2 separate regions of the Homo sapiens genome follow, and region 2 is linked to region 1. Evidence: promoter capture Hi-C in 16 types of primary human blood cells and fetal thymus (Javierre and others, 2016). All regions are on one chromosome and are shown on one strand. Each heading gives the region's core, a stretch centred on a gene start or on the middle of the fragment in contact. The rest is flanking DNA. Distances are from core to core; before and after follow the strand shown. Region 1 holds the start of NAV2-AS3 (NAV2 antisense RNA 3). Region 2 has its middle 4.8 kb from the start of HTATIP2.

Region 1 (4,114 bases), core at 605-3,104:
AGTCCAAGGCAGCTGTACCTCATATCTACCTTGGCTTCCTCACAGCCCCCATAAAGGAGACTGGTTTTGTCATTTCCCTCATCTTCAGAGGAGAACAGGAAGGCAAAGCAAAACTTGGGCAGAGCCAGAAACCAAACTTGGATCCCTTCAATCCCTTATGGGCCCCATCAGATCACCCTGCAAGGTATCTGAAAATGCAAGCATTTTACATTTCAAATCAAGTAATATGTAGTAAGAGGACCAATGAGTCATTATTTTTCTGAAACAGGGTCAGCTGAGCTACGTCATGGAAAGCTTAATTGCACTTGCCATTTTAACTTTTGCATATATGGAGTCGACCCTGAGGGTTCCCAATCCTTGAATTTCTTCTACCTGTAGCTGGGGACCTTTTTAGGATATATTTTTCAAGAACAGAATTATGAGATGCAGACGAGGCTGCCCAGACCAGGAAGTTCAAGTAAGGGGCAGAGAAGAAAATTCTCACTGGAGTTATCTCATGTGAAAAGCACCTTCCAGAATGGGTAAGAGGAACCCAGGAAGCTTCTAAGCTACTGTGGCTAAATTCAACACCTCCAATGTTCCCTGCTCCTCCCTTTATGACATTAATGATCCCCAAGGTCACAATATCAACATAATGAGAAATCTGTTGGAGTAAATCAGACTAAGTGTTTGTGCTTGTGCTGAAAATGCAACAGAAGAGACTGAAGTTTTCACTCAACTTTATCATTTTAAAAACCACTCTGTGAATACATTAAAAACCATCAAATTGTATGCTTTAAAATGGTGAATTTTTAGCCGGGCACGTGGCATGCACCTGTTGTAGTCCCAGCTACTTGGGAGGCTGAGGCAGGAGAATCACTTGAACCCGGGAGGTGGAGGTTGCAGTGAGCCGAGATCGTGCCACTGCTCTCCAGCCTGGGCGACAGAGTGAGATTCCGTCTCAAAAAACAAAACAAAACAAAACAAAAACAAAAACAAAACAAAAAAGAAAACCCCAAAAATAAATAAATAAAATGGTGAATTTCATGATATATGAATTAAATCTCAATAAAAATATAAAAAATGATTACAGCTATAGTTAAATAATTATTTGTTTAATTGCCCTTCAATGCATGTCTCTCACACTAAATAGTAAGCTCTTTGCAGGCAGAGATTCTTATTTTGTTCAAATCTATATCCCATGAGCTTAGTACATACTAGGTGCTTATTAAATGCTGTTTTTGTTGAATGAATGAACACATGAATGAATGAAGCCCAAAGACACAGCCATAGGGCTGTGCAAATTTTTTTTGCAAGAACACTGATTACAGGTTTTCTTTCCTCTTAAGCTTTAACAAACTTACATTTAAGACATATGACAAGCAAATTAAACTGTCGATCTGCCAATCTACCCATCATCCATCCATCCAGCCACCCTCCAACAGATAGAGTGACTCAGGGTAGAGTAATGGGTTATGGGCATCCATCCTACAGGTAGCACAAGGAGGAAAAAACACCTACACCAAAATGCCATAACTTTGCCAGAGGCTGGACTTTCTAGACCCCACGTCCTTTCAAGGAGAACTCAGTGGAAGCTCTTCAAAATACCATCTATTACACCATTAAGCAAGGCAGTTAATTTTGATCTTAGCCAAGTCTGCCCAGCCAGTTAGATAAACAAAATTCTTTCAACTGGGGAGATCTTGTCAAAGGACAAACAAACTAATTTTAGCATTCATTTCCCTGCTGGATTTTTATTGCTGGTGAAACAACACACACGGTTGGGTAATTACACACACACAGGCATGTAGACAAGGCCCACATGTACAGAACCCTGGCTTCCTGCTAAGGCCAGACTGTGGGGCCTGGTGAGCATTCCAGACACAGAATGCTGAGAAACGTTGCAGCCCCAGCCCAGCTACACCCGGGTGCAACGTGGATGTATCAGAAAACGACAACCCCAGAAAAGCGGGAAAGCCTCTGAGAAATGGGACTGAAATGGAACTGAACATGTGAGCTGGGCTTGCTGTTGGGAATTCTGACTTTGTTTTGGCAGAGGGGAGGGGAAAGGCAAAGCTAAATCAGGATCTTCTGCCTTCTCAAACTGTAGGAAGAAATGAAAGTCAGGGAGGTGAATGCAACTAGTCTGACAATGATCTAGTTTCAAGACTGCAAGTCTATTTCACTTATCGTGCGCATGTAGAGGGAGGGCAGGCAGAGTGATAAGGAAAATGGGGAACTTACCTCTTCTTTTAGAGATATGTAAACACATGTTCAACTGTTTTTTAAACAACAATATTCTTTGAAATAAATTCTGTTGTATGTCTCTCCTTGGGAGACGGCACAGCACCAGAGACAGAGCTGTGGTTAGAGCCAGCCTCACACTCAAGAAATTAATTTAAAATGTTTCTAAATTATTATCCACCAATTACAATGATTTACAAACAGCTCTGTATATATTTTTAAATAACTCCTGTATTATACAGTCAATGAAAAATATACAAATTTGGGTTTGCTGGACCAAAATTTGTATAGGAATTGGCTATTGTATACATCAATATAGACTGCCTTAACAAAGTGAAGGCCTTAAGAAAGCATAATTTACAGATGAAGCAGCCACGGGTGTGTTTATCTGAAACACTGGCTTTTGCCCAGAAGTGTTAAAAAAGCTTGTGTTTCTGAAGGTTCAGGGAGCCAGAGGACTGATGGCCTCATCCTCCACTTGAGGAGCTTTTATAAGAGGCTCACACTGGGTGAAGAAGAAATGACTTGTCTGAGGTCACAAGCAAAGGAACCAGCTGATCCAAGAACTCAATCTCAGAACACCCATGCCACACTTTCCTTCTCCTTGGAGAGATAAATAATTAGTGCTGGAGCCTAATGAGGTGCTGGTAACATCCTAATGTCTTCTGAGTGGACTCTTGCCTCAGTTGCTAAGCTACTGAACCATCTCCCCATTACCCTCCCGAGTTCTGCCATGATAGGTGGGTGGAGGCGGCTCTCCGCATCCACCTTCTTAAGCTTCCCCAGAGACCCCTGGATGGAAAGAGTCAGAGCCTCTGCTAAAGGGACAAGGTGTCTGTGGGGTGTTTTTCTTGCTTCCCTGGGGTGGCCCATGAGCATCAGGGTTAAGGAACATGACTGTTGTTAGACCCAAGTTGTTCAAATGCCTTCTCTGCCCCTTGCTGGCTGAAGGACCTAGTATACATCATTGTTAGTAAGCACTAATGGTACTAAATGCTCACTGGGTACTGTGTTAAGTGCTTCACATAAATCATGGCATTCAACCTTCAAAATAATCTTATCAAGTGTTATTGTCATCTCTATTGTTCAGATGAGGAAAACAGAGCTGTGGTTAAGATCCCAGCGCAGGCAGGTGAGTTCAAATCCCAACTGTCGCATTTCAGCGCAATTTCTTCTAGTTTAAGTTCCCTCATAGGATTGTGGCAGGTTAAATGAGACAGTGCATATGTTTAGAAAGCCCAGTGCCTGGCATATAGGGAGCACTTCCTAATCATTAGCTGCTTACAGGAGTGGCAAGACCTAGTTCCTGCTCTGGTGAAGCTCAAAACCTACTAGGGACTAAGACATGCAAATAGCTCTACTGCTACATAAAAGTGGTATAACAGATGAATGCATGACTGGCTTTGAGAACACACGGGAGAAAGCGTCGCAGAGGAGTGCTGTTTAAGTTGGCCCTAAAGGGTGCGGAGGAGTTTGCCAGCCAAAAGAGGATCCATCTAGACACATGGATAACCTATGCAAAAGCAGAGAGAAATGGCAGAGGGGAAGGTATGTTCAGAGAAGGGTAAGTAGTTCACTATTGTTAGAACACTGGGATCACAGCTAGGAACTGGGCTGCATGGGACCTGGGGGATGGTTTTGAACATCTTGGATGCCAGGCCTCTGCCTGTAAGATGGGGGATACATGAAGGTACTAATGAGTAACAGGCTCTGGCTTCTGTTTCAAAGAGAACGTCGACTTTTCGATTCTTCCAACATTCTGTATTCAATTTTTGGTGGGCATTTTCTCATCAGTACTTTCTTCTACAGATTTTTCAGAACACACCATTTCCTAGTCCTGTCTGAGTCATCCCAGACCTCTGGGAGCTGGCCAGACTTGAAGGGTAGTCCT
Region 2 (3,944 bases), core at 641-3,140, 380 kb before region 1:
TTTCCTTTCACTTTCCCTTTCCCTTCACTTTCCCTTTCCCCCTTTGCTTAGGCCAGAATGTGAATGTACTGGTAAACCAGCTCTGACCATGAGGAGAAAGACACTCTCTAGAGGATAGCAGGGCAAGGAGCCCTTGGATGACTTCATAGAACAGAGCCGCCTGCCCACCCTGGACTGCCGGCACACCTCTGGGGAGTGAGAGAAAAATCAACTTCTGTCATGTTGGAGCCACTGTAATTTTGTTACAGCAGCTTAGCCAGCATTTTGCCTAATGTAAGATTCTTTTAGTCAATCTTGTCAATGGATATTTACTGATTATCTAATGCAAGCCAGATACTGTGCTAGGCACAATAGATTTTTCCAAGGTGAATCAGGGACACCAGCTAAATTCACTCTCATCTTGAAGGCAAGTCATAAATACTTGGGAAGCTAAATAAAGTTAAGCAACATTATAAAACATCCCCCAAACTTTCACAGGGTGGCACATGCTGAAGGCCAAATGAGCATACAGAAATAGAAGGAAACTCAGAGAAAAACAAGTCCATGCCTTTCCTTCTCTGACAGCTGGAACCATGTCATCCAAGTGCTGAGATAATGTGACAAGACCTAGGCTCCTAGAGCAACCGGACCACAAAAATTCAGGGCAAAGGGGAAGGGGAAAGCATAGGGAAGGAGGGAAAGGGGACATAAAGAAACGGAGCTGGCATGGAAAGATCCTTGGCCAGAGACCTGCCTGCCACGTTCAGGTTTGCCTTTGATGAAGTCTCTTCATATATCTTGGCCTCCATTTCCCTATCTGTAAGATGGGAACTGTTTCATTACATTCGCTTTGCTCCAAGGAACAAACTGACTCATGGCGAGTAAAGATGGTGAATATTGTAATATTGTAAGGCTATAAATCATGTATAAGAGAGACAGAATCTCAGAGAAATCTCAAAACAGGATCTGCTGTAGGATGGGGCCTTAGGGAGACTGGAACTGTATTTAGGTCAGATTTAGAGTCCTCAGGATCAGGGATCCATGCATCTTCACTTCAGAGCTATATTTTTAGTTATACCTTCATTAAGACTCTGTTTCACGTGTTTGAAGCCCCAAACTCAAAATGTTTTGAGGAAAAAAAAAAAGGAAATGTCCTGGCTCATGCAACTAAAGAATCAGTGTATATAATAGTCTTGGCATGACCAGAATCAGCCAGTCAGCCAATGGGGCCAGGACCCAGTCCCTCTGCCAACCATGGCTCTATTTCCCTTCACGTCGGCCTTACTCTCAGACCCTGCAAGATGACCCAAAGGCTGTGCTCTTGCTCATACTCTTCATTGTCTAAATTCAACCAGAAGCTAGAGGGAACTTATATTGTGCAGACCAGTTTTCTTCAGGGCATACAATAAGGTAGATAAATGAGGAGAATGGATGATTGAAGCTATCAAGTACATCCCCCTAGATTCAAGTCCAGTAGAAAGAGCATAACTGTAAGCAGAAGTCCCCAGCTGTATCTCCTTAGTTCTGATTAAACCTTATGATTGTCACTGTGGCTCTGGGAATGAAGCCGGGTGGGGCTATCTCTTCCCACATGTCTGGGAGTAGGGGAGGAAGTAAGGTCCCCAAGGAAAGTAGAGGTCACTATTATAGAAAGAAAACAGAACGGATGTTAAATAGCATCTAAAGTGGCTATACTTGTTCCCCATTTATCTCATTTATTTGTAAATATGAATGCTAGATAATTTTTTTTTTTTTTTAACAAATGAGAGCTTTAAATAACTGTAGCATGACTAAGATATCTGGTTGGGCACATAAGAGGTTGGATTTGGTAAAGGTAGGTGTCTGAAAGAAAGTATTGTAATTTTCTGCTCTCACATAACAAATACAACCATGAATTGCATTCAACAGTTTAGGTAGTTGATTTAGTGTATCTATCGTGTTCTTGATAGCTAATTGTTTTTATAGATGGAGAAACTGAGTCACACGTTTATTAAATATATCATCTAAGATCTTGGGATTCAACTTTGGTGCCAGGACAAGAACCTGGATATCCAGATCAATGACAAAATCATGAGTAATACCTGTGTAATTCTAGAATGTTTTCAGGAAAGCATAATTCTTCTTGTTTTTAGCTGATAGCACTGTATTTGTTAAATTCTTCAGGTTCCCTAGCACTCATGGGTATGTCCTCTTACTGATATATACCAAAGGAATAACCTATGTAAAAGCACTGTGGTAGGTAGAAGTATGGCTGGTTTTGAAGGGCCAAAAACCAATATGCTTGAAATGGAGAGATGGAAGCATGGGGCAGGGGCAGGGCAGGGGAGGGGAGACTAGAGAGGCAGGTAGGGACCAGCCTGTGAAGGACATCATAAGATACATTATCATTTATAATTATTGTTAAATTTTAGGTTTTAAAATTTAGCAAACTTGATTTTATTAGATTTATTTTTTATGGTTTTCTTCTATTCAAGGTAGTGAAATATTACCTTAATTACCATTAATACATTTATTAGTACCTGTTACTAGTAGTACATTTAACAAAGTTTAAAAAAAAAGAGGACGTTTTCATAAAATATTAAGTACAGCTGAGTGTATTGTAAACATAGGATATGGTAAACTCATGAAAATAGTATCTGAAGGAGTAAAGTTTGGGAAACACTGGTATGTTGGGCATTTTTCTTTTTTCTTTCTTTTGTGAGATATGATCTTGCTCTGTCGCCCAGGCTGTAGGGCAGTGGCATGATCTCAGCTCATTGCAACCTCTGCCTCCCGGGTTCAAGCTCCCACAGCCTCCCGTGTGGCTGAGACTACAGACACGCATCTTTTTTTTTTTTTTCTCCAGAAACAGGGTTTTGTCATGTTGCCCAGGCTGGTCTTGAACTCCTGAGCTCGAGTAATTATCTGTGTCAGCCTCCCAAGTACTGGGATTACAGGCACATTTTTCATTTGCCCCTCCAGATCCACTTTCCACTCTCTGTATCCTTTTCTGTGACTCCACAGCTGACCTCTAAGGCCTGCATCACCCAGTCTACCTTGTCCTCCTTGACCTATCACCTACCTTGGTGATAAGAGTCACCAGTAGGAAATTGAAGCAGAGGAGGAGTATGGGGTTAGGGGCTTTATTCCCCTGAATTCCTGCTATGAGATTGCTATTCCTCGACCCAAGAGCCTCACTCCTGTCTGATAGCCTCCCTGACAGCTGCAGGCACTCTCTCCAGGTTCCAGTAACCACCTCCTTGCCTCAACCTTTTAGACTTAGGAGTAGAAATGGCTCCCCGCTATTGCTAGCACTGAGACACAGCACCATTCCTTGTTGGGTTTTCTTTAACCCTTCCTGCTTCCTTGTAAATAATCTTTCACTAAATTCTCCCTCAGTTACTCTGTTGGAACATGTTCTCTGTTTCTTGCCAGGACCCAAACTGATACACATGATGTGGTAGAAAGCAACTTTGCAGTCAGACGGAAGTAGATTTGAATCCTGGCCATCCACTTAGTAGCTGTGTGACCTCAGTGAAGTCCAACTAGATAAGCACAATATTTATCAAAACAGGAAGACTCTGCTCTGTGAGGTCAGCCACCACATCTATCTCACTGCTACAGCCCCAGCTTTGGGGCAGTGTTTGGCACTTAGTAGGTGCTCAAGAAAAATGTTTTCATGGGGTAGATTTCACCATACCTTATGCATGAGACCTAGGAGAGTAAGAGGTGAACTAGTCAAACATACTTTATGGATGACCCCCAAGAATGTAGCAAGACTTGTGCAAGTAGTGGATCTTAGACACACTCTTTAATGCAGGCAACAAAAGGAAGGGTTGAGGCTGGTAAAAAAAATTAGAAAACATGTCAAGGAACTGACTGGCAAAGAGCACCCTGCCTACTACACCACCATGTCCCTAGAGATCTCATCTCCTCCCCCACTATCACTCCACCTCAAAAGCCAGTTCCCTTCTGAAGGGGGACTC

The links. The method cuts DNA at HindIII sites, captures the fragments that hold promoters and counts their contacts. A CHiCAGO score of 5 or more calls a contact.
Region 2: a contact is called between a fragment that was not itself captured here and the fragment with the promoter of NAV2-AS3 in region 1, in 1 of 17 cell types (erythroblasts). The highest score is 6.1, in erythroblasts.

The regions. Positions count from the first base shown.
Region 1 is chr11:19,979,114-19,983,227 of GRCh38, reverse strand. NAV2-AS3 (NAV2 antisense RNA 3) reads left to right here and starts at 1,854. Exons shown (of 2, transcript NR_174949.1): 1 at 1,854-1,991; 2 at 4,033-4,114. All of the region lies in intron 10 of NAV2 (neuron navigator 2), which reads right to left. RefSeq lists a silencer at 3,951-4,114 and an enhancer at 3,548-4,114. The HindIII fragment of the contact is 1,320 bases long and covers 1,331-2,650 here.
Region 2 is chr11:20,356,926-20,360,869 of GRCh38, reverse strand. No RefSeq gene overlaps it. Among named protein-coding and RNA genes, the nearest start is that of HTATIP2, 4.8 kb to the left of the region's middle. RefSeq lists an enhancer at 1-137. The HindIII fragment of the contact is 7,195 bases long and covers 1-3,944 here.